4 separate regions of the Homo sapiens genome follow, and regions 1, 3 and 4 are each linked to region 2. Evidence: promoter capture Hi-C in 16 types of primary human blood cells and fetal thymus (Javierre and others, 2016). All regions are on one chromosome and are shown on one strand. Each heading gives the region's core, a stretch centred on a gene start or on the middle of the fragment in contact. The rest is flanking DNA. Distances are from core to core; before and after follow the strand shown.

Region 1 (3,130 bases), core at 6-2,505, 780 kb before region 2:
ATGTCTTCACTCAGTGGCATAAAACACTTCCTGATGCCCAAAGTCCACCTGGGCAAAGTGGCCAGGTGGATGAAGTTAGTGTCTTGAAGCTTCTTGTTGCCTCTTTCACTGGCCCTTCCTATGCCATCGCCTCTCCCCCCAGGATCAGGGATGTCATCCCTCAACCCTGACATGGCTCATGCCCAGGTCTGCCTACTCCCACAGTAAAATGCTGTCCAACCTCCCTTTCAAAATTACCTCCGCTGGGGAAAATGCTTATCATATATTTGTGCAAAGTTTTAGCAAGGCAGCCCCATGGTATCTAGGGAGGTCTGAAGGATGGTTATCTTTGGGGGCGCAGTTATGGATCATTGCTATTTTCTTCTCTATACTTGAAGTATTTTCATGTTTTATTTTAAATTTTAACAATAATAATGCATTTATTTATATGCTTCTTTTTAGGCCTCTTCTCAGCACACTGTTCCAACCAAAATTGATCTAATAAACGTATTTATTTTAAAGCAGCAAAGATTGATACTGACAGATGGTATTTTTATTCCAGGCTCAGTATCACAGCCTAGCTTATTTCCTTAAGCCAAAACTCTGCCCTTCTGAAGTAGAATCCCAGGCATTCTGGTTTATTGGGAATAGAGCTTAGAATTGGGGCACAGTGGGTGTGGCCATGGGGAGATGAAGAAGCCCTTAAACTCTGCTTTTTTTCCTTAATAGATCAGAAGAACATCCTCATTCACTAGAATTTCATTTACATATGGGAGATTTCTGCCAGCAGAGGTCTATGCCCAAATGGTAAAGGGGAAGGCCTGCTCTCAGCCTGTCTTGTGAGCAGTGCGGACGCTGCCCTTCTTCCAGTACATTCTTCATCAAAATTCATGTGCTCTGTTCTCTCATCGCTCCCCTGTTTAGGTTCTGGTATGCACAAAACACATGCTCGAGAATTAGCTGGCACAAACAGTTGATATGTTGCTTCATGTAATGTGAATTTACATGTTCACAGGAGGGCCTGTCAGGGTAACTGGGTTCAAAGGAGTTATACTAATGAGGAAAACTCTAGGTCCTTGACACATAAATGCTGGAGATATTTTTCAGCAGACGGATATTTTGGCATTCCCTGAATATGTGTATGCATAAGTTAGCACATCTGCTTGACATCTTATTTGGTTGGGTTAGCCCCAGTTCTTCACAGATTCATTTTTTCCATACTAGTGTCAGACAAAATGGTTAAGGGTCAAGGTGCCCTAGGAGAAACCTACACATACCAAAGAGGTAGGTGGCGTCGGTCGAAAATCCTAAAGCAAGTGACTAGCTTAAACTTAGTTCACAGTGAGAGATGCAAAGAGGCAAACAGAATCAGGAGAGAGTTACTTACATTATCAGAGAACATCATAATTTGGAGCTAGATGGATCAGATCTAACATCTTAAATTGTAGAAGAAACTCAACCTCAGATTTACTGAGACATTAGTGAAGAAGCAACGGTGTAGTAAAAAGAACGCTTGAATTTTACTTGCTATGTGGAATAAGTGGATTAACCTTGAGTAAGTTATTTAAACTTGCAGAGCCTCAGTCTTCCCATCTCCAAAATGGGGATAATAATATAGACCTAAACTGAACTATTTATAAGTGAAAATGAAACCATGAAACCATGCAAGAAAATTCTTAACATTATGCCTGATACATGGTAGGCACTTATTTATATTTATTTATTTAAGTGACAGAATGCAAACTAGAAACAAAATTACTCATGTTTTAGTGCTGTTTTCGAAGGTTCATCTCAGAATTGCTTGGAAGAACTTTTCCAATCCAAGTGCCAAGCTCTCCTATTCACAGAAGAGTTGCAGTTACACACAAGACCATAGCTGGGGTGCAGGGGCGAGTGGCAATTTGTGTGTGTTCGAACCTGAATGAAGACACCCCTGAATGATGTGTAAGACACTATCAAACGTGTGTGTGCGACTACACAAATGTGAATGCAAATGGGGCTTGAAGCTACATGTGTGCCCTAAAACATGTATAGGAGTGTGTGAGAGCATGTGTGTGTGCACAAGTTTCCAAAGTGGACAAATGGCATTGTCTCAACAGCACTCCCGTTTCCTGGGCGTGTTTCTGCAAGCCTGGGTGGTATCACAAACACAAAGGCAGAGGTGACAAAGACCATTAACTCTTAGAAACGCCATATAATAATTATCATGATAGAATTGCTTTTTCATTGCCGAGCCTAATTTGAGGCCAGCTCAGAGGAGGAGGGGGACACATGAACGATTCTGGCACCATCCAAGCTGATGCTGTGGCTCTAGGTGGGAGAAGAAAAAACTCTAGGATCTCCTGATGAGCAAAAGCCAATCCCCAGCTCCCTGCTAAATTCCACTTCTAACAAGTAGTGGGGGCTGTCTAGTTGGTGTCCTTAGTACATATTAACAATAAATAAAGCTTCAATAAATATGCAAAGCAAAAACTAATTTAAATTGGCATTTGTGTCGGGTGGGGCAAGAGAGTCCGTTCCACCATAAAGTGATTTAGGATATATTACCTCGGGCATCTGCATTACAAATTTACCTCTCATTACAGCTATGTTAACGGGAAAAGGCAGCTTCTCAACAACATGCAAGGCAGAGTTTATTAGCATAAATTTGCATAATAATTAGCTCTGCAGCAAGCAAAGGCTGTCGTGTCTTTCAAACAGGCAACTTCCAATGTCAATTTTCTGTGCTTCACTGCTTGTCCCTGTTCTGTCTAAAGCTCCCGGAACCCCCTTGGCCCTTCTGCTAGTTGGTAAATTCTCCCACCCTGGTCCATTTAGGCTCAAGATTTCATAATCTCTACCCAGCATCGCCTGGGAGAAAGTGAATGCTGACTTCCACCCAGGGATGTGATGGCCAGAGGCGGGCCCACAATTCTATTGCCTATGGACGAAGGGGACTGGCTACAAGCCCTCACTCCCTACTTTCAGAGCCTATGAAGAGAGGTAACGCAACGGTGTGGCTAATTCCAAAGAAGGTGCAACTGAAACTATTTAGATGATTTTTGGAATGCATAAATCCAAGTTGTTTATTAGCAGTTTTCTTCATAATTATGTTGTGTCTAAGCTAATATTATAATTAGTTCCCATTGCCTGGGTTCATACTGGCTGGGTG
Region 2 (2,903 bases), core at 38-2,537:
GGGCAAGTGGGACACCTTACCTCCATCTTATGAACTGGATTCGTGTTCTCTCCTCTAGGACCTCTTGGCTCTGGTTTGCCAACAAATCAGACTTAGAGAGGTGGTGCTTCACCTGGGAAATCCAGAGGGTCCATGTGATTCCTGCCCAGTGTGGCCCCCAACTGGGCTGGCACAGAGCCCAGACGAGCACCTCACCCTTGCCCAGAATCATTTACGGTGCACCTCCCACCTCTCCCCTCTCCCTCACCGCTACTCCCAGGCAAGGTCTCAAACTCTCATTTACCACATCTCTGGTCACGTGGATGTCCTGGCCATGGGTGGGAGGGGAGTCAGTGGACATCTTCTCCCTTACACCCTGGGAAGGGTGGTTGATGGACAGCTTTTCCTTTATGCCCCGAGAAGCCTCTTCTTCTGTCTGAAAGGTGAGAAATTCCCTCTGAAAATGTCACTCTGCATCCAACCCTGGGTCTTCTTCTCCTCTTCCTTTCCTTTTATTCATTCTCCATCACAACTCACACACCACATATTCACACACATACACTCCTTACCTCACTGTTCCCACAATAAGCTACTTCCCTGTAAAGTCCTCAGAACTCCCTAAGTCCCTGGCCCTATCCCAAGGTGTTCCTGAGACACCCTTGAGCTGGGAAGGATGCAGCTGAAACCCTTAAGCCAGGATGCTTGAGAAGCAGGACGGCGTTAGTGGTGGTGCTAACACATTTCCTGCCAGGACACAAGCCACAGTGTCCTCCAGCACATGTGAAGAAATTAGACTCAAATCTAGGAAGGGTGTCTGGCAATGAACTTGAGTTCCAGTTCCATGAAGAAGGAAGTCCAGATCCCCACACCCACTGAGACCACTTCTCTAGCATTTTGGATATCCTGAGTCATAAAGAAATCTTACTCACTTTTTTCAACCAATGATGTAGTACAGACACAGCCTCACTTTCCACAACGTCAATGTCCTGGAACAAATTGGCAAGTTGGTGACCTCAGAAAACCTAGAAATTCAGCTCTTCCCACCCAGCCCCCGCAACTGTTACTCAAATTTATTTGTAAGATCTCTATGAAGTGCAGCAGGGTCCCACAGGGGGAGAAGATATATGAAAAATTATTCCATGTGACTACCACCAAGCTGCTTACCGAACTGGTTATTGGTAGGAAGGGAAGCCCTACACCTTTCCGAGCAAGAATATACACAATCCATGTCGTAATTATCATCTTTGAATGTATACCAGGCCCCCTTCTTGGCTCCCTCCTTCCATTGAAGCTGCCTGAGAACTCCTATGGGACAGGAAGGTCATTGAAGGGAGGTGTCCACCTGATTGGCTGACCCATGGTGATGTGACAATGGCCTCCCTTTGAAAATGATGTATGTGAGTATAAATGCCGTTGCCAAGAGCCCCTGCATTTCAGGCTCTGGGTGCACTCCTATGAGTTACCCTGCTTCAAGGAGCAGAACCATTGAATAAAAGATTGCTGTCTAACACCATTGGCTGACCCTTGAATTCTTTTCTTGGGAAAGCACTAATTTGGGAGCTCACCTCCAGGCAGGAGGATGGGGTCTGGAGCCAGGAAACCTAAGGCCGATTTACACTGACTTCCTAGAACTAAATCAAAAGGAAAACCCCAACTTTCCGTGCCCAAGTAACAAAAAGACCAGAGGCTACGCCCTTTGCAACCCTCTCCTTTTCTGCATGGCAGATGAAAAACTGAAAGTATCTCTGATTGCTCCCCTCCCACAATCAGGCTGGTTGTGGGCCAGGTCTTCATTTGCATAGAGATATAACTTTATAACTTCACTTCAGCCTCTGATTGGTCACTTTCCGCAACCAATCAGACTGATCATGAGCCACTACTTCATTTACATAGGGTATATACCAAGTAACCAATGGGAAACCCCTAGAGGGTATTTAAACCCCAGAAAATTCTGTAACCAGTCTGCTCCCATCCTGTGGAGTGTACTTTTATTTTCGTTAAATCTCTGCCTTTGTTACTTCATTCTTTCCTTCGTTTGTGTGTTTTGTCCATTTCTTTGTTTAAGACGCCAAGAACCTGAACACCCTCCACCAGTAACAACCTGTCCCGCAACAACTTGTCATGTGCTCTTGACCTAATCATTAGTCCCTCTGGTCTGAGTTTCTTTGTCTTATACTGAAAGGGATAGAGTTGTGTCCCTAGCTTTCTTCTAACTCTAATATTCCAAAAATTTTCCCACGTTTATTCTTCTCAGGATTATAGAAAACCTTTTATCACTTTCTCCAATTCCCCTGATACAGCCACTACACGTCTTCCCTCTCAACAATTCGCCTCAATTTTATATCATCCCTGACATAGTCAGAATCGGCTAGGCTCTGCTGAGGACTGAGGCAACAAACCAACCTCCAAATCAAAATGTTTATTTCTCACTCTCAAAAGCTCTCGTGCAAGTTGGGTAATTTCAGAGCAATTGTGTGCCATGTGGAGACTCACAGGTCCACATTCAGAGGACACGACCTCCATGACTGCCAAAGCAGGGAAGAGAGCACAGAGAGGAATCAGGTCAGTGTTCCACCTTTCAGCTCAGAGGCTCCTACTTAGAGCTTTTGATCTAGAACTAGTCCTATGGCCCCTACCTAATTCCAAGGAAGACTGGAAATTGTAAAATAGCAGATGAAATTACCTGTCAACATCTCTGTTTCTACAGCTATCCCCTAAAATTTATGTTTTCATCCTTATTGATGTAATTTTATTTTTGAATATTTAAAATATTAATGTGATTCAGAAATCAAAACATGAACAGATACATTCAAGGACGTTCCATCTCTTCCCCATACCTTCAACCTTGTTCTAACTCACTTCAGAAGTAAAATTTTCATTAGTTTCTCGACGACATATCCTGTGCTTATGTTGTCAAAATGAAG
Region 3 (3,244 bases), core at 109-2,608, 810 kb before region 2:
AAGAGAGGCCTCGGAGAAACCAAACCTGCTAGCATCTTCATCTTGGATTTCTAGTTCCCAAAACTATGAGAAAGTGAATATCTAATGTTTAAGCCACTCATCCTGTATTACTTTGTTAAGGCAGCCCTAGCAAACTAATACATCAACATGAAGACCAGGTTTTCTTAAAGTAGTTGAGATTTAGATAAACTAAAACTTTAAAGTCTACTTAAAATGTCAAAGTGAAATAAAAAGAAAAGTTGGTGTCCAGAAGTGGCTACTGGACAACAAATGATGGTTGCTTTAAAGGGTTGCTGCTTAAGTGCAATGGTATCGAGTTAAGAACTTCCCTAATGCCAATTCTTTCCCAGGATGGTGCGAATGTGTGTTTGTACATTTGTAAAAATAAATATGGAATAAATTCTTATTATGTGTCAGGCACTGCTCAGCTGCTAAGATTGCAAAGATCAATAAAAGATTCTCCACGGTCTAGTGAGAGAAATGTTAAATTTTATTGTTAGCATTTGTTTACATGCCCACATGCTATAATTAGATGATCTCATATTTCTTTTACATTGCTATTTCCTCCTTAACCCACATTCAATCATCAAACACTGCAATAGGTCTATTAAAGCATATCAAACACCATGCCAAGCACACTAATGTGCTTCAGGGTTCTGTACTTGGCCCTGTTGTATTATACAATGACCTGGTAAAGAATTTGGAATGCAACCTAATGTATTCTATAGAGCATATGAAGCTGAGAAAAATAGTTAATGTTCAAGAAGACAGAATCAGGATTCAAAAATATTTTGATCTCTGAGAAAAATAATCCAAGACTACAAAGTTGACATTGATTCAGGACTACATTCTGCATTCAGAAAAGAACTGGCAGCTTAAGTTTATGGTGAGGTGGGGAATGGGAGGGCAGCCTGGTTTATTGGCATGAGGACAGACCCAGATCTTCAGTTGTCCCACATCTATTCCTCCTTCTCTTTCATAATCCATTTGCTGCACTTCACTCCCTCCTGTTTCTTTGCTTGTTCCTCTGTGATGCTCTGCAGGAGCTCCAAGACCATGACCTTGGTCCTCCCTCCCCACAGTGTTCTGTTTCTCCCGGCCACCCTGGCTCAGATGACAAAGGGCTCTGCCTGACCACACTGTATGGTCCCAATCGAAAACATACAAACCAGGCTATCCAGTCCCCTAGAAGAGGGCATTGAGGATAGTGAAAGGCTGAAAATCAAAAGCCATGGCTGAATCAATGGAAAATGAACACTATGAAAAGACAAGACTTATTTGGGTCAATAGAGCTAACTTCAAAGTTAGTCGGATCACCACTGTGAGGATGAGGACTTATATCATTCTGGGAAGTAATCTCAATACGTAAGAGTTATAAGAAACCAAAGATTAGATTCAATTTAAGAAAAAAAGTACTCAAAACTTTCTTTATCTTGCATGGTACTGAGCTCTCTGTTACTGGAAGCGTTCAAGTTGAGGCTGCAGGACCATCTGCAGAGTCTTTCAAAGTGGATTATTGCATTGGGTAGGAGGTGGGTCAGAATGACCTCTAATGTTCTAAATTTAAGATTGTCTTCTTGTAACCTAGCTGCAGTATATTTTACTCGGAGCTAGACTGGAGTGTAAAGTGCAAGCTCCTATATATGAGATCATTTTGCCACCTTTTTAGAGAGCGAGTGAAATTTATACTTAGCTCAAATGTCAGTTTTAGGTATCCACAGCTGCTGGGTAGGAAATTCAGATCCTACTGAAGAAAATGAAGGGAACCCAGCTGTCTTTGACTCATCACCCTCTTGCGTTGGCAAGGTCACTGTTACCTTGCAATTAGCACTTACCTTCAAAGAAGAGCAAGCTCATCATCTGTGCCATGCTGGATAAAACTCTCCATAGGCAGAAAAAGGGCCAAGACTTTAAATGGTTAGAATTTGTGTGAATTAAGATAACCTTTGATCTTAATGGGTGACCCTAACTGAGCGTCTCTCACACTCTTGCCCCTTCTGGCTGTTTGGAGCCAAGTCCTTGAGATTAGGGTCCCCTTGGACTCAGTGTGCTGGTCTCCTAAGCATCAAATGAATGCATGCTACTAGGAGGAGGATGTGCAATCACTCTACTTGTTAAACTGCAAGTTTTAGCAGAAGGATTTTAGAGACCTTTCCACTCTTGGCCCATATCTCTACAAGTAGGGTGGTGGCCACCTCTCTTTCTGCCTGCAAGGCTGGATGCCTGGGAACCGAGTGCATGGGGAGAGCTCTGGGTGCAGACTTAGGAGCCCTGGGCGCTGGCCCTGTCTGTCCCTTCCCACACCCAGCCATGCCATGTGGGCCATGCCTTTGGTCCCAATCAGCTCCTGTCTTAGTGTCTCTCTGGGGCTGCTTATAGCTCGGGTGGGACACTCATCTCCTAGCTTTTCCTCACCCTTCCTTTCACAGTCCTGTAGAACATCTTTAGGCTTTGGTTTCTTTATCTATAAAATGTGGGAAAAGTAATAAATTCCCTGCCTCAAGGTTGTTGGTTAGCCAACATGGGCTATGACTATCAGGAGACCATGGTAATTAATATTGATTGACAATTATAAAAAGATTCATTATTTTAATTTTTTTCCTAAATAATGGCAACTAAAATTGAGTTATTATATAATGCCAGGCTCTAGCCCAGAGATATTAGAGAATGCATAACTTAACTCTTTTATAGGGATCATTATTATCCCCCATTACAGATGATAAAACTGCTGCACAGAGAGGTTAAGTACATATCCCAAGGTCACACAGCTAGCAAGTGGCAGGGCTGAGTTACGATCCCACAACTCTCTGCTGTCTAAGGTGAGTTCAGGCCAAGATTTTAAAAAACAAAAATTGGTTGTAATAGGGTTGATCCCCCTCTTATTCTTCTGACTCACTGTTGCCTCTATGTTGCCAAAAAAAAAAAAACCCTGCTGCCATTTTTGGTTGAAACAACTCCTCCCCCAAGTCTCTGTGATCTTGGCAAGGGTGCCAGACTGAGAGCTACAAAGCGTCCTGCAGTCTCATACTGCTTCTCATCTGTGACAGTTTCAGAAATCAGCGGGACCCACACCTGTCTCTTTTCTTTCAAAGCAGTTAGCAGTAAAGTGGCAAATGCCCCCATTCCCACTTCCTATGCTGGCTGGGGCTTGTTTTCTCATCCATGTGTTTTAAGATTTCACAACTCCAAGGCCTTTTCAGCGCCTTCAGAGTGCATTCCACAGGCGGAGGGTTGGCAGGGGAGT
Region 4 (3,008 bases), core at 507-3,006, 740 kb before region 2:
ACAACATCAAAAGTGGACACTAATGTAAACTATGGACTTTGAATAACAAAGATGTAGTTAAATCAATTTTATGAAATCTACCACTGTAGTGTGAGATGTTGACAATGAGGGAGACTGCAGCAGATTTGCAGCATGAACAGGGGCAGATGGTATATGGGAAATCTCTGTTGCTAACATCCTAAAATTTCTGGAAAAAAGATCTAAACAACTCCATCAGGGCTAAGAGAATTGTTCTCAGGATGAGACAAGCTCTTAAACATCTACTATTCTGGGAAATGCATTCTCAAAAACTAGGCCAAATTGGCCAGGGGCGGTGGCTCATGCCTGTAATCGCAGAACTTTGGGAGGCCGAGGTGGGTGGATCACGAGGTCAGGAGATCAAGACCATCCTAGCTAACATGGTGAAACCCTTCTCTACTAAAAAATACAAAAAAAATTCACCAGGCGTGGTGGCAGGTGCCTGTAGTCCCAGCTACTCAGGAGGCTGAGGCAGGAGAATGGAGTGAACCCGGGAGGTGGAGCTTGCAGTGAGCTGAGATCGCCCCACTGCACTCCAGCCTGGGTGATAGAGCAAGACTCCATCTCAAAAACACAAAAACAAAACAAAAACAAACAACAACAACAACAAAAAAAACTATGCCAAATTTGATTTTGACTATTCAAAATTGTATGTCTGTGTTGATGTGAAATCTGAGATCTCTCTAAATGAGATAGAATTATGACTATGGGCTATAAAGCAAGGGAGTGGAGCCCTAGGAACTGTATCAGGTTCTCAGCAGAAAGCCAGCATCTCCACTCTGGGGAAGAGAATGACCAGTGGCTCCTGGGGAGAGTATCCCTCTGAAGCTACCTTGACTGTTGTCGTCAGCTTCTCATACTTGAATCCAAAAAAGGGACACAATGAAAATCAATTTTACATCAAAAATTAATACCAAAACCACAACATTACTTTTTTTCTAATAGTGATCTGGGGATTCCTACTTTGAGACAGACATTTTTAACTTACGCATTTGCTTAGGCTTGTATTAAATCATTGTAAACCATAGTTTTAGTACTTATTCTATTTGATCAACCTTTACACGTCTACTAGTTTCCACACAGAATACTTGGGAAACTTATAGAGTCTTCTTTTTATAGGAAGAAAAACTGAGTCACCAAAATCCATGTTGTATTTTGAGATTAAATCAAAAATAAAATCTAAAATATGTCCCCATCTAAAAAAGTGCCCCCTCTATACCAGGAAACCTAAAGATCAATAGCCTGAACAATGCTTTGCATTCAACTTCCTGAGTTGCAGCAGAGTTAGTGAGGCTGGGGATCAAACAACGAGGGCCAGGCATGGAGGTGTGGATTAGAATAAAACAAAATGTGACAGGAAAAAATTACAAGGTGAAAAGCCTTTTGTTCATACAATGGAACATAATTTTGCAGTAGACATTTTTAAGCTTCTATTGTATCACACAGTGTTTCTTTGCAAGATTTCATGTGTTGTTGTGTTAAAAATGAATTTCATTTTGTCCCAATCAATGCATCTCCCCACTCACTATTACCTACAGGCCTTCCTAGCAGCCAGAGTTCTGGCCACCCTCCAGTACCAGGCTGGCATTAAAGTAAGTAAAGTTGCTGGTGTCTGTCCAAATGTTCAATCGAGGTAGTTGGGAAATGTCACCTACACCCAGATAATTTTTAAATTCCTTTCTCTCTTTTTCTTTCTCCCCATGCTCCGAAATTACCTCCAGCTTATTTGTCTGGCTAGAGGTTAATGGAACACTAATGATGTTAATGAGCCTTTCACAGTGCAAGTTTTTTCAGGAAAGAGATATAATAGCTGTTTTCCTTCCCTTTTAATCTTTTTCATCATTCAAGAGTTACAGGCTGAGACAATTAGCAACTTGTACAGCTCTGTCTCCCTGCTCAGTCACAGCCCAGTGGGGCAAAAAGCAGGAGCCCATTAGACAGCTCCACATGTCCACAGGTGAGAGCGCATGGATGGATGCAACACAGTGCTTCCTGCCAGAAGGCATAATGCTATTCAGGGAGAAAGGAGGGAAATTAACAATCTGTTGATGAAGCTTTTCCATGGCAGGCAGGCAGCAGGAGCTGTCCAGAGTACGGAAGAGTCATCATAAATTCCTCCCCATCCCTTCATTAGACCGAAAGGCATGAGTGAGAGCCACAAACCTCAAGGAGTTCAGAGTCTAGCTCACCCAAGCATCCAAATGTTTAGTTACTGAGAGTAAACTTACCCTAAATTCATAGGGACCTGGAAAAAAAGAAGAACATTTTTATAAAACAAGTTATTTAGCGATACATCCCAATTTTTTGGGCATTTCTCCATTTTGTGGTGTTTTGGCATTCTGCCTGTCTATGCTTTGAAAGTATACATCCTGGATGCATATGGCAATTAAAACATGAACTCAGAGTGCTGCTAAGATGGAAAAACATTGAAAGTAAAACATGTCCAAGATTTGAACTAATCTTGATTCTGACTCAGCTGGTGTTAGGTTTTATTTCTGGTGAAAAGGGCCTATAAATGCCTTCAGCAAATGCTTCAAGAAGAAATTCAGAGCACTCAACAGAGAGGGCTGAAGAATGTGACATTTCACTTTCCTTCAGATTGTTGATTTATTTTGTATCTAAAAGTGGATTTTAATTAAATGGATCATGGTTCACAACCAAGTTAGAGTGAAAAATATTAAGGCCCAATTCAAGATCAAAAACTGTAGGAATAATTTTCCTATAAAGGTCACTCTCAGTCAGAATTCAACCACTAATGCCAGCTAACTTGAGATGTAATATAAAGCAAAATATTAATAGGCCAAAATAATTTTGTACAAATTATGTGTTATAGATGTATAATGAATTGTTAGGCACATTAAGAATTTGATATGTATCCTTAAACTTTATGGTTTAGAGAATTGCCTGGAAAAATAATCAAAGGTTTGTTCACCTACTATGCGTGTTCAATAAACTTTACGCTTGCTGAGATGGTGGCTAAAAATAAAATA

What was found. The method cuts DNA at HindIII sites, captures the fragments that hold promoters and counts their contacts. A CHiCAGO score of 5 or more calls a contact.
Region 1: a fragment that was not itself captured here is called in contact with the fragment with the promoter of SPATA19 in region 2 in 2 of 17 cell types (M2 macrophages and megakaryocytes); the score reaches 6.9 in M2 macrophages.
Region 3: a contact is called between a fragment that was not itself captured here and the fragment with the promoter of SPATA19 in region 2, in 1 of 17 cell types (M2 macrophages). The highest score is 5.3, in M2 macrophages.
Region 4: a contact is called between a fragment that was not itself captured here and the fragment with the promoter of SPATA19 in region 2, in 3 of 17 cell types (M2 macrophages, endothelial precursors and monocytes). The highest score is 9.3, in M2 macrophages.

The regions. Positions count from the first base shown.
Region 1 is chr11:133,067,620-133,070,749 of GRCh38, forward strand. All of the region lies in intron 1 of OPCML (opioid binding protein/cell adhesion molecule like), which reads right to left. Among named protein-coding and RNA genes, the nearest start is that of OPCML-IT1, 300 kb to the right of the region's middle. The HindIII fragment of the contact is 2,337 bases long and covers 88-2,424 here.
Region 2 is chr11:133,844,226-133,847,128 of GRCh38, forward strand. It overlaps SPATA19 (spermatogenesis associated 19), which reads right to left and starts at 1,288. Exons shown (of 7, transcript NM_174927.3): 1 at 1,144-1,288; 2 at 909-965; 3 at 284-415; 4 at 21-112. The coding sequence starts at 1,221. The HindIII fragment of the contact is 7,074 bases long and covers 1-2,903 here.
Region 3 is chr11:133,035,913-133,039,156 of GRCh38, forward strand. The region is part of intron 1 of OPCML (opioid binding protein/cell adhesion molecule like); the gene reads right to left. Among named protein-coding and RNA genes, the nearest start is that of OPCML-IT1, 330 kb to the right of the region's middle. The HindIII fragment of the contact is 7,417 bases long and covers 1-3,244 here.
Region 4 is chr11:133,102,165-133,105,172 of GRCh38, forward strand. The region is part of intron 1 of OPCML (opioid binding protein/cell adhesion molecule like); the gene reads right to left. Among named protein-coding and RNA genes, the nearest start is that of OPCML-IT1, 260 kb to the right of the region's middle. The HindIII fragment of the contact is 627 bases long and covers 1,444-2,070 here.